Regions from separate parts of the Homo sapiens genome. Here all the other regions are linked to region 1. Evidence: promoter capture Hi-C in 16 types of primary human blood cells and fetal thymus (Javierre and others, 2016). All regions are on one chromosome and are shown on one strand. Each heading gives the region's core, a stretch centred on a gene start or on the middle of the fragment in contact. The rest is flanking DNA. Distances are from core to core; before and after follow the strand shown.

What was found. Contacts are between HindIII fragments. The CHiCAGO score rates a contact against its expected background, and 5 or more counts as called.
Region 2: the fragment with the promoter of CREB1 here is called in contact with the fragment with the promoter of NABP1 in region 1 in 2 of 17 cell types (naive CD8 T cells and total CD4 T cells); the score reaches 7.9 in naive CD8 T cells.
Region 3: a contact is called between the fragment with the promoter of INO80D here and the fragment with the promoter of NABP1 in region 1, in 1 of 17 cell types (total CD8 T cells). The highest score is 8.5, in total CD8 T cells.

What each region holds. Positions count from the first base shown.
Region 1 is chr2:191,676,290-191,680,438 of GRCh38, forward strand. It overlaps NABP1 (nucleic acid binding protein 1), which reads left to right and starts at 1,847. Exons shown (of 6, transcript NM_001031716.5): 1 at 1,847-2,416; 2 at 2,701-2,839. The coding sequence starts at 2,326. RefSeq lists enhancers at 1,399-1,478, 1,688-2,190, 3,018-4,149 and silencers at 1,539-1,888, 2,489-2,548. The HindIII fragment of the contact is 1,958 bases long and covers 309-2,266 here.
Region 2 is chr2:207,528,203-207,532,351 of GRCh38, forward strand. CREB1 (cAMP responsive element binding protein 1) reads left to right here and starts at 1,760. Exons shown (of 8, transcript NM_004379.5): 1 at 1,760-1,932. LOC124907970 (a long non-coding RNA gene) reads right to left here and starts at 1,395. Exons shown (of 3, transcript XR_007088060.1): 1 at 1,234-1,395; 2 at 315-411. RefSeq lists silencers at 1,129-1,308, 1,979-2,108, 2,139-2,188, 2,899-3,068 and enhancers at 1,329-1,528, 1,789-1,888, 3,477-3,978, 3,979-4,149. The HindIII fragment of the contact is 5,804 bases long and covers 40-4,149 here.
Region 3 is chr2:206,083,852-206,088,000 of GRCh38, forward strand. INO80D (INO80 complex subunit D) reads right to left here and starts at 2,323. Exons shown (of 11, transcript NM_017759.5): 1 at 2,050-2,323. INO80D-AS1 (INO80D antisense RNA 1) reads left to right here and starts at 804. Exons shown (of 2, transcript NR_186084.1): 1 at 804-897; 2 at 2,106-3,653. RefSeq lists enhancers at 1-441, 2,070-2,359, 2,086-2,905, 2,410-2,459, 2,470-2,579 and silencers at 1,054-1,348, 1,250-1,299, 1,340-1,539, 1,560-1,729, 1,810-2,019. The HindIII fragment of the contact is 4,007 bases long and covers 1-3,415 here.

The DNA.
Region 1 (4,149 bases), core at 597-3,096:
CTTAAAAAAAAAAAAAAAGAGCTCTGCCTTAAATATTGCTTCTGTGAGAATATTTTGCCTGTTTAAGAAAATACAGCTTTGAGTACAATCCAATTGAAGTGTCAAGTCCTGCCAGATAACCATGGTAGAATTAGAGCTTCTGAGCTGGATTGGGATTGAGGTTGGACGCTGGCTCTGCCATTAACTGGCATGTTTCATCATTTGTTTTATTTGATGTTGAAATTATGCTTATAATTTTATTTTACACCACTTTCCAGTATGACATCAGTGTCTTTGGCACCTTGGGCTTTATTAGTTCATGAAATGGAAGCTTCTGTTTCCTTAAAAATGCCTTGACTCTCTTGCTAATGTTGTGATAATGTTTCCAACTCTTTCTAGGGCTATAATATCTATGCTGCTTGTTTGCAAATACTTGGGAAGTGGTGGTTGATCTAAAGATACTCAGAAAGAATGGGGAGAAAATTAAGGCTTCTGACACTTTTCCCAACATTTCTGTTATCATCACCAAGAATTAACTAGATGATTCTTTAATGCCCCACTACTTTATTCTGCTATTTTATTTCTTCAGTCTGTTTTTGACTCTTATAATGACACCACTGGAAGTTAAGTCTAAACATTACCTTTAGGCTGGAGAGCTCTGGGGTCAAGATTGACTAGATTTAAAACCCAGCTCAGCCATTCTCTAGCTATCTGGTCTCTGGTGAGTTCCATCGCCTGTAAAACGGGGATTAAAAAGGGGAAAATACTGAGTATGTACTATTTGCTAGGCACTAGTTGGACAATTTATGATCCATTTAATCAATCTTCTGCTAGGCAGGGATCCCCATTTTATTATGGTTAAAAAGCTGTAATAAAAGCCAATTGACCTAAAGCTCTCACAAGTAAATAGCTGGAGCCCAGGTTTGTCTCTAAAGCACATGCTCTTTTCACTACGCGACATAAAAAAAACTTTATTAATCTTTTTTTCCAGATTATGTTTCAAGGGTTCCCACTGCTGTTGAATAATTAATTCCTTTTAGATGTACAAAAGCAAGTGCAAAGTAAAAGAAGAAAAGCTAAATGGGGAAGGTGTGTAATATGAGAGGCAGGGGGTAAGGAAAAATGAGAAGTCTGCAAAGGAATTTACGTCCTATCTGCTTAGCATTACACAGTGGAAGCCCACGTCAGACATTTGTGTTGCAGTCCTGCCTGCTCAGGGGTTGCTGGGTGACCTTCTGCAAATTACCTCATCTTTCTGGGTTTCAATTTAAGTATGCCTGAAATGAGGCGGTTGAATTGATCTCCAAATTCCCTTCTGGTGCTAAACTTCCAGCCTTGTAGCCACTGACGCCTTCACCATCCCAGCCTGTTTTCCCTTGGTACCGGACCAGCTGCCCTTGCCCGAACCCTGTTCTTCCTCGACTGCGAACTTTCTAACGTACTCACAGGTTCTAAACTCTACCGTTCCTCGTGACCGAGGGACTAAAGGGCCCGGGCAGGGGCTCAACTCTGAGAGAAAAAAAGGCAAGAAAACTCCAAAGTTGGACAGCAAGCGTCAAAAGACTGCACAGCAGGAAGGCGAAACCGAACAGAACTGCTGCTGCGCGGCGACAGCTGAAGTGGGTGGAGAACGGGAGGGCGGGGGAGGCGGGGCCGAGAGCGATTGGAAGGACGAGGGGGCGGAGCCCGCGCTGACAGCCCCCGGGGAGGAGCGAGGGAAGCTCTGCGGGCTGCGGCGGCCGGGTCCCGCCCCTTTGCTTCCCCTCCCCAGCACCAGGCGGGCGTGGCAGCAGGCGTGCCGACGCAGCGTGACTTCACAAGGGGAGGGGCGGGCCGAGGGTCCTGCCGGCGCGCGGGCGTGTTCATCAGTCGCTGTTTGGGACGCTGGGTGTGCGGTGTTCTGTCTCCGCTCCCGTTTCGCTGTCACAGCCCGTTCCTTCCCGGAGCCCGGGACAGGCTGGGCGCGCGCCCGTGTGAGTGAGCGGGACTCAGGGCAGAAGTGTCCCCTCACTGCGTTTTTTTTTCCTTTTATCCAAAGAACGGGGCAGTTAGTACGCTTGCCTTCCTGTCGCCCGGTTGGGAGCGGGGTTGGTGTGCGGAGTGGTTCGCCTTTTTTTCTTTAGAACTTGTGAGCCTTTTTTTTTTTTTTTTTTTTTTTTCTTTTTTTAGGCTCAGTGCTGTCCGGGCTGGTTTGCCCGGTCCCTGACTAACGGCTTTCTGCCCCTTCTCTCGCCACCCCTGCCCAAGGTCGCCCCTCTGCCTTCGCCCCTGTCCCGGGAGGGTGGGAAGCTTTGACCCCGCCCTGCCCACTCGCGTCTCCGCAGCCGTAGCCGCGCCTGTCCCAATATGAATAGGGTCAACGACCCACTTATTTTTATAAGAGATATTAAGCCCGGACTGAAAAACTTAAATGTCGTCTTTATTGTCCTGGAGATAGGTAAGTGGGGTTTGCAGCCTACTCCACCGCCCGCTGTGCCTCCCGGGGCGGGAGACAGGGGCGCCGGCCGCTGCGCGCCCGGGGCTCCCCTCCTCCTCCCTCCCCTCCCCCACCCACGTGGCTCTAGTGGCCTCCGCCCGAGATCGGATCCTACCTGAGGCGGGAGCCCTGGGCTTGGTCACTTCCCACCTTCCAGATGTATTAAAATACCGGAGGAGGAGTTAGCCTTTCTGGATGTCCTCATTATCTAACAACCCCTCCCTTTGATTTTTAAATCCTCACAGGACGCGTGACCAAAACCAAAGACGGCCATGAAGTGAGATCGTGCAAAGTAGCAGATAAAACGGGCAGCATCACTATTTCCGTGTGGGATGAGATCGGAGGTCTTATACAGCCAGGGGATATTATTCGGTTGACCAGAGGGTAGGTGTGCAAAAAAGTCGGGGGACCTAACAGTCTGCAGAATCGGGATTGGCCGGCTCCTGGGATCTTGGCAAGCCCTGAAGTCCCCCGCCTTTTCTGTGGGCCACTCTTGAGGAGTTTTGAACTCCTTTGGTGTTAACTTTGGGTGGTGGGCAGCGCTGGGATGTAACAGACCTTTGCAGTGAAAGGCAGTCGGTTTCAGCTGGGAAATCCGCGCCTCTACCCCGGTTTACAGGTTAAGTAGATTTTTAATTATTATTATTTTTTGGGACCGAGTCTCGCTCTGTCGCCAAGCTGGAGTGCAGTGGCGTGATCTCTCCTCACTGCAGCCTCCGCCTCGCGGGTTCAAGAGATTCTCGTGCCTCAGCCTCCCAAGTAGCTGGGACTACAGGCGTGTGCCACCACGCCCAGCTAAGTTTTGTATTTTTAGCAGAGACGGGGTTTCAGAGTGTTGCCCAGGCTGGTCTCCAACTCCTGACCTCAAGTGATCCGCGCGCCCCAACCTCCCAAAGTGCTGGGATTACAGGCGTGAGCCACCACGCCCGGCATAGATTTTTAGTTCTATTCTGAGTCAGTGAGTCTTTTTAGGAGACTGGTATAGTCCATATTTTTTCTTTTTTATAAGTTGTTTTCTCTAGTGTAGTTGCCACTCAGTTGTTTCCCACCCCTTCTCCATTTTTAATGACTTGAAATCCTGGCCAGTATTTTACATATGTTATTTAGAAATGTGGACATAAATGAAAATTATAGGTAAAGGATTTAGCATATTCTGTGATATGTCAAATTTGTACTTGGAAAAAGAGGGAAACTTTACAGTATCTGGAAGGCTCATTCTCCAAAATGATTTCTTGTGTCTTCTGCTGTAAGGTGGATGTTGCGCAAAAACCAAAGGGATACACAGAAAATGTTTGGCAGAAAGGCATCTACAATACCTTCATCCAAAAGAGTCAGTTGGCGGATAGGTGGCTTTAAAAAATACTAGAACTTTTTTTTTAAAAAATAGATTGCTTTTAGAAATTTACCAAATTTTTATCTTAGGAAGATAAAAGGGCAGAAAAGGATCTTAAAAACAGAATTTGGAAGCTTTTGAGATCAATAAAATTGTAATAATTTATCATTAACTGCAGGGAAAGTGGTGGAGATTGATGTTGGCCTAATAAGTAGAATCTTAGAAGTATTGGAAAGCACTGAGAGTAGGAGCTTAGAGCTCCTTGGTGTTACCTTGCAGGCTTACAACATCTTCAGGAAGTGAGGTAAAGTGTCATCAAAGCAGGAAGTGAGAGTCAGGACTTAGACATTTTCTTCTCATA
Region 2 (4,149 bases), core at 510-3,009, about 16 Mb after region 1:
ATGAGGACTGAAAATGATCCGCTGCATTTACAGTCATGAAGCTTGTCTGTGGACAATTCAGAGCCACTTCAGGTGAGCGGTGGGGACACTGGAGAGGGCTGGGAGGTGGGACATGAAAGACTGTCCATGGGGTAAGAGACAGCTGCAGTTGTTGGAGAGCAATTTAGGGAGAAGAGAAATCTTTTTAAAGAATTGAAAGACTTAAGCATGTTTAAATACCAGTAAGAAAGAGCCGGTAGAGAAGGAAAGGTTGAGAGTAACAGAAGGAAAGGAGACTCGTTAAGGGCAAAGTCCATAAGAAAACAGTAGGGTACCTGGAGTACCAGGAAGGACAACTCTTTCTTTACAAGAGAAGTGAGTCATGGGCGGAGTCCAGAATCGAACCCTCTCTGCTTCCTAAAGACACGTCTCCTTTAAAGGACAGAAAAAGAATGATTAAGACTTGAGGCCGGGCGCGGTGGCTCATACGTGTAACCCCACCACTTTAGGAGGCCGAGGCGGGTGGATTACCTGAGGTCAGGAGTTCCATACCAGCCTGGCCAACATGGTGAAACCCCGTCTCTACTAACAACACAAAAATTAGCCAGGTGTGGTGGCAGGTGCCTGTAATCCCAGCTACTAGGGAGGCTGAGGCAGGAGAATCGCTCGAAACCGGGAGGCGGAGGTTGCAGTGAGCCGAGATCGTGCCACTGCACTCCAGCCTGGGCGACAAGGGCTAGACTCCGTCTCATTAAAAAAAAAAAAAAAAAAAAAAAGACTTGAAACCCCAAGGAGAGGGCTGCAGAGTTCACTATCAAGGAGAATGGGGACCTAGTGGTGCCGTCCTGAGAGACCTCTGAAAGAACAATTCAGTAGTTTCCAGCCACGGAAGTCCCCCTGCTGGGTTTAGGGTGCAGTGGGTGCGAATCCCTGCTGTAGAAAACAGGCTGAGGAAAGAAAGCGACACAGGATGTTGTCTGGAGAAAGGCGGGGAGGTAGGATGGGGCATATTTCCAGGGGTCCGGGCAGGTTGTGTGGCTTGGAGGCCTCCGAGGGCCGTCGACGTCAGCCATGGTCCGGGCAGAGCCCCGCAAGGTGCCACAGTATCGGGGCCAGCGCCCCCCGGAAAAGCATGCTCCGCTGGCGGCCGCCAGGTTTCTCCGCGGAGTCTCGGAAAGGAAAACCCGTCCCCACGGGGGTCCCACGACGCCCCCGGGTCCCAGGCCCCGGGACGTTGGCAGAGGCGCAGCAGACCTTCTTCCCCAGCCCGCACGGCTCCAGCGGTCCGGCCGCGTCCCAGCCCGGGCTGCCCGTCCCCCGTCTCCCGGCGGCGTCGGAAAGTTCCCGGGGCTGGCGGCGGTCAAGAGCAGAGCCAGGGCAGCCGCAGCCGCCTTCTAGCCCGCCGCTCACCGCCGCAGGGGCAGGCCTGAGCGGGGGTTTCCACCAAGTCGCCGACACCCCTCGGGAATTCCCCCACTGGGCCACACACAAACCCCGCTTCCTCCTTCAAATTTCCGCTGCCGGCTTTACCGATGCGAAAGCCGCGGTGGAGTTTAGACCACTCCTCCCGGCGCCGGGCTCAGCCCGCCTTCGCCTTCCCTCTCCCCGCGGAACCCCTTCTCGTCGCCCGAAGAAACCCGAAGGTCTTCGGCAAGTTCCGTCCCCAGCGCGGGGGCGGGGCCGCTCGAGCTGCTCCGGGCCTAGCTCGGCTGTTTCCGTGCGCGGCCGCTGCGCACTCGGCACTGGGCGGCGCTGGCTGGCTCCCTGGCTGCGGCTCCTCAGTCGGCGGCGGCTGCTGCTGCCTGTGGCCCGGGCGGCTGGGAGAAGCGGAGTGTTGGTGAGTGACGCGGCGGAGGTGTAGTTTGACGCGGTGTGTTACGTGGGGGAGAGAATAAAACTCCAGCGAGATCCGGGCCGTGAACGAAAGCAGTGACGGAGGAGCTTGTACCACCGGTAAGAGGAGCAGGAGGAGGAGGCAGGAGCCAGAGAGAGCCGGGGGGACGGAGGGGGGACGGGGAGGCGCCGGACACCCGCGCTTGGGGCCTTCCCCTCGCAGGAGGGGCCGCGGTAAAGATGGAGCCTCCGCCCGAGCCCCACAACATCGCCGCCGCTCGCAGCGAACAAAGAATAATGGCGGCGGACTGGAGCCAGCGGCGGCCGGGGCGGCAGCGACTCTGCCTGCAGCCAGCGGCGGCGCTCATGGCGGGGGGCGGCGGGCGGCGGGCGGCGGGCGGGGTGGGAGCCGGCGGCCGGGGGTGTGTGCGGGCGGCCGGCCGCGGCGAGCTGGCGCCCGCGTTCCCGCCGCCGCCGCCGGGCCGGGCGCGGAGCCGGGAACCCGGAGCCGCCCCGGGGGAGGCCGCCCGCTCGGCCCGGCGCTGCCCCCCGCGCCGCTCGCTCGTCCGGCCCCCGCCGCCCGCCTCGCCCCCGGCCCGACCCGGCCGGGCCTCCGGGGCAGCCGCCGCCTAGGTGCCGGTGGGGGATGGAGGAGGAAGAAGGCGACAGTTGAGGGCAGAGGAGGTGAAGGTGCCTGCTGCCTTCCCGGTGGCTTCGGTGCCTGCCATGCCCGCTTCGCAAGGGGAAGAGCTGCAACGTCTGACCTACTCTTCTCTCCACTCTTTGTGCAATAAAGTTCGAAACCCAAGGTTTCCTCTCGTGCTGTATTTTATTCGTGCCCTTTCCCCCCCGCTCCTACACCGTTGAGGAAATGCTGCTTTCTGCCCTGTGTTGCTTAGTTGAGAGATGAGAGCTTGTGCTTTTGGGGGGAATTTTTGACTCCCTCACCCCTTTGCTTTTTTTTTTTTTTTAAAGTCAGTCATGGAAATGCATGCTTTTTGGGAGAAAGGGTGCTAAGAAAAACATTTATAATAACTTTTTAAACTGTTGGGATCTTATAAAAGGGAAGCTGGTGTTTGAAAACAGTTTCGGTTTTAACCCTTTTTAATAAGGTAATCATCACTTGAGATCTATCATTCTGAAACACTTCGTTGGAACGAGTATCAGCCGATGTACTCTTGTTTTACATCATTTCGCGGGGTGCAACCTTGCCAACCGCGTTTGGGTCATCTGGATCTCCCCTCACCCTCCGTCCCACTCCCCCTACCATATTTCCCACGAATTTCTGTGTGAACTTTAATGAGAGATTGATTTAATACTACTACTAAAAATAGACATTAAAGTATCCATTATTTGTCTCATGCAGTAGGTAACCCCCGTCTTGAGATTGACAATTTAAGCCACAAGCTGTATTTTTTCTTCGCCTGTTGGGAAAAGAGGACAGCAGAAAAGTCATTGACACATTAAAAATTAAAAGACAGTTTTTGAAGGACGTGCGGTATGACCTATTTAAGTTTGTAATACCATCTCAAGTTATAATTCTAACCTCAGCTGGCGTCTAACTTCTGAAGGTTTAGTAGAAGATACTTTTGATTGCTGCCTATTGAAATCTTTTACATTTATGGCTCATTTCGTGATTTAAAAGTAAAGCCCCGAACAGTTATTTTAGGTGGTGCAAAAGACGAACAAGTTTGTTTTAAAAATACTTGTCTGTCACTGTATGATTGCATTGTGATTGATACGTACAAACCTTCTGGTTAAGAACAAATATTGATTGGCAGCAGAAGCACTGTCTTATTTTTCTGTATTCTAGTCACTTTTCCAAAACGTGCTTTGCTGTATTGCTTCTCTTTAAAAGACCACATTGGCAATTTGTCATTTCCAAGAAAATTAAGAAGAGGCAATAAAGGCAGGTTTTCTATAAAGATTGGGGAAATGATTTTATTTCCGAGCACTGAAAAAATTATAGTATTGATAATGGTAGCTTACCATTTTTCCTTTATGTTGTTCCGCAAGCCACTATCAGTAGAGTAGAATTTTTTTTCTTGTTAAGAATATAAGTCGGGCGCGGTGGCTGAGGCCTGTAATCCCAGCACTTGGGGGGTCGAGGCGGGCGGATCACTTGAGGTCAGGAGTGCAAGACCAGCCTGGCCAACATGATGAAACCCCATCTCTACTAAAAATACAAAAATTAGCCGGGTGTGGTGGCACGCGCCTGTAATCCCAGCTACTCGGGGGGCTGGGGTTGCAGTGAATTGAGATCGTGCCATGCACTTCAGCCTGGGCGACACAGCAAGACTCCGTCTCAAAGAAAAAAAAAAAAAAGAAAGAATATAT
Region 3 (4,149 bases), core at 1,073-3,572, about 14 Mb after region 1:
AAGCTCACCAAAAAAAAAAAAAAAAAGGAAAAAACCAACAATTAAACGATGCAAAATAACCTCTCCAAACACGCCCACACTGGGGACTGGCAGTGGGGGGTGGCAGGGTCTATTAACATTTCAATGTCAACACTCAAGAACAACAAGGAGGTAAGCATAGCCACGGGAAACATCCTGTCCCTGAAAAGCAGAAAATCGAGATTTGGAAATTTATGTTTATCACTTTTTTTTTTTTTAACGTTCAGAGCTCAGGGCACCAAAATATAGCTAAAATTGAATCCATTTAAACAGAAAACATACGTGTGTGTGTATGAATATATATGTGTTTATATATGCATATAAAATATATACATACACATATATTTTTTTTTCGTTTAAATGTTATACATACACACACACACACACACACACACACACACACACCCCAAAACCAAAGTAGTTTTGCTAGGTTCCGAGGGCTCTTCCACAGACCCTTCTGAGTTGTAGCAATAACAAGTTTAGGTTTCCTTAAAATCTCCATTACTCTATTTCTAGGTCGAATACAAGAATGTCACATAAAACTAAACAGTGATTATCAGAATAAATGAACTACTGATCCTTAAACTGTAGACCTTGTTTCGGGAGCTGCCCTGCCCACTTCCTCTCCCTCCTCCCAATCCCGGAGGCTTCCAAGCCATCTGACAACCACGTCTCCCCCTTGGGATCTGTTCCGGTGTTGGTTTTACCGGACAGTGACCAAAAAGGAGGGGAAACTCCTACATCTGGGGACTGCTCCAGAAACCCTGCCTGATCCTGCCCCTCTCACTGACAGTCTCCTCGCTGCTCCCTACATCTTCCTCTCCGCCGGAGCTGTCCAGAAGGGGGATTTTGGACCCAAAGGAATCGGGATGAAAGGGGGTGGGTACTCAAGCTGAAAATAACACCCCCAGTTGGTGGGGTAAGGGCTAAAAAAGGCAATAGGGAAAGATTGTCCGGCAGAAACACCACCTGAGTTTACCTCCTCCTTCCCACCCCAAAAACCCAGTCACTAACTAATAAAGCTAAGAAAAGCCCCTTGCAAACTTTTCCAAACCGGAAGAGAAGGCCCTCTCCCCAACCTGGGGGGCTCTAGGGGGAAGGGGCTGGAGTTAGCAGCCCCGAATGGGCTCGCGGGGAGTTGGGTGGGGCGCGGGCGAGGGGTGCAGGGGCGGAGTACCTTCTTCAATGGACAGGAACTGGCAAAGAGTTTCAAAATAGCCGAGTGCGCTCCCCCACGCCCTGGGGGGTCCCGGGCGCTAGGACCAGGGCTCCCCGGAGAGACAGCGGCCCCCAGTTCGGGCCTAAAAGGAAACTTTCTGGGCCGCGGCTGCACCTGACTCCTCACCGCCCCTCCACCCGACCCCACGCCCGCCAGGCCGCCCGCCCCGCCCCGCCCCGGCCTGGCCGTCCGGAGCGCGGAGGAGGGGGATAAATAAATTCAACTCTTACCGGAATCTGGGGGCCGTCTGCGAGAGACCCGGGGGAAGGGGAGCCGGGCGCCCATTCCCCACTCCCCACTCCTAGGCCCTGACGCCCCTGTCCCGGCAGCCCGGGCCTGCCGCCCCGCGGGAAAGCCTCCGGGCCGGCGCGGGATTCGGCCCAGCAGCGCCGCCGTCCCACCCGGAGACCCCGGGGGACTCGAGGGGGCGCGCGGAGGCCCGGGGTGCGGGGGCAGGGCGCGGCTGCCGTGGGGCCTACCGGCCCGAGGCCTACCGGCGCCCCCCCCTCCCGCCGCACACCCCCACCTGGCCCGCGCAGGCCGCTCCGCTCGCCCCACTCCGGCTCCGGCTGGACCCCTGCCCGCCCGCCGTCGCCGCCCGCGGGCGCCCCGGAGGCCCTCAGGCCCCCGGCCTCCACCACCCGGGCGCCGGCCCCACTCACCCTTTCATTCTCCGCCCGGGGCCTGGCGTGGGCCGGCGAATCCCCGGCCTCACGTAAGCGCGCTCGCCGCCCGCCCAGCCTGCGCGGCCCAGCCCGCCGCCCTACGGGAGCCCGGGGATGTGGGCCGGGCCTGGGGCCGCCTCTGCTTACCTTTCAGCTGCTTTTTTTTTTCTCCTTCCCCCCTGTTCCCTCGGCTGGGCTGACAGATCAGAGTGAGAGGCGCTGGCAATGGACTAGGAAGCTCGGCTGCCGCTGCTACTGCTCCCCCCTGGGCTCCGGCGAGAGCCTTTCCCTGTCAAGCAAGAGGGGTGAGGATCATATTTTTATTTTGGAAACTAAAAAGTGCTCCCAGGGTCGGTGATTATTAAGGGGAAATCCCTGAATATACTCTCCAGCCAAGAAGGCAGGGCTGCCGGGGCTGTACAAGAAGAGGCAGCAGCCTCCTACAGCACCACTACAGGCACTGCGAGGACATAACACCAGAGAGCTGCTCCTCTGCCCTCCGAAACGACAACTTTCCTACCATCTTGGAGGCAGAGCAAAGGGGGGCCAGGGGGAAAAGTGCACCCGCTCCCGATAAAGTACAAATTTTTACTTCTCATCTCTGGAAAAAAGTCCACACCGGCCGTCTACACCCGCGCCTGGGGGAGAAAGCAGGGAAGAAACGGGGGGTGCATGAGAAACGTTTTCATTTGCTCCAGGGGGAAAAATGTTTCTGCATCTTCTGATGGAAAGAAATCTTTACAAGACACAGGTTTTCCGGTGGTTATTGTTTTTTATTTTCTGTTTTTAATTTTTTTCATGTTAGTGACAGTGATATTTTAATATTTTTTTAAGCCAGTAATAATTTTTCTCCATTACAGGGCTAAGTTCTGTGGCTGGTGGTCAGTTTGTAAATTTATACTTAAAGAGACTTAATAGTAACTTCATTTATTTGTCTGGTTATGTTATTGTATATATAAATATTTATGTTTTCATATATTGCATATAAAAATTTGTGTTACATGTTACTCTCAGAACAGATTGCTGTAAGACAATTGTAAAAAAACATGTCTTTCGTCTGTTTCTCAAAGCAATGTAAATAAAACCTATGGACTGTCCAGAAAGGCATGATACAGTGTGTCATTTTCCACAGTGCAGATAAAGGCAGCTATCACTGGGGATTTAAAAACGGCCCCTGTTTCTGGAAATTCTGTTATGCTGCCCATACAGAAAGGATACAGTAAAACTGGAAAGAGATTTTAAAGACAGCCTTAGATTTTTCTTGAGGTAAAATAGCTTATTAAGAATTATATCCGGGCATTTAATTTTTTTATTTATTTAGATTCTTTAAACTCTAGCTAGATCTTTGGTGCATTACACATGTTGCTATCTGCTTTTTGTGTCACAGAATTGAGAAATGTGGCTATTTTTGTTAGTTATGTTAGTTCAGAACTTCCAATGTGCTGCCAGCCTGTATGATAGACTTTTTGTATATTGCAGTGGATGTCATGAATTTACTTTTTTAAATGAGCAAAGCTTACTAGATAAATGGGATCAGAGTTAAACAATGCTGTTAGCACAGAGGTGAGAGGGACAAAGGGTACCCATTTACATCGATTCCAATAGAACGCTTATTGGAGGATAAATTGCAGAGACATTTTTCTATTTTTGTGAAGAAAGAGAAAAATAATAGAAAAAGAACCGACTATCTTTGTATGTTCTACTGGGGATGATGATTTAAATCTTGTATTAAAAGTTATTTTTCTAACACATGTTGACTAACCTGGCAGGAATGAATTTGTTATATTAGTGCCCTGAATCAGTAGAATATTTAATTTCTTTGTAAAATTTATTACACAACATTTAGAAATAACTTCCAAATTTAGAAATTGTCCTGATTTAAAAGTGAGTTCATGTAATGCATATATCGGATATTTATTAGTTTCTAGCTGAACCTTATCTTTATCATATAACTTTGAATATAGTACTTACCTAAATATTCTGGATTTTCTTTTTTTTTTTTTTTTTTTTTTTGAGACGGAGTCTTGCTCTTTCGCCCAGGCTGGAGTGCAGTGGCCCGATCTCAGCTCACTGCAAGCTCCGCCTCCTGGGTTCACGCCATTCTCCTGCCTCAGCCTCCCGAGTAGCTGGGACTACAGGCGCCCGCCACCACGCCCGGCTAATTTTTTCTATTTTTAGTAGAGACGGGGTTTCACTGTGTTAGCTAGGATGGTCTGGATCTCCTGACCTCGTGATCCGCCCGCCTCG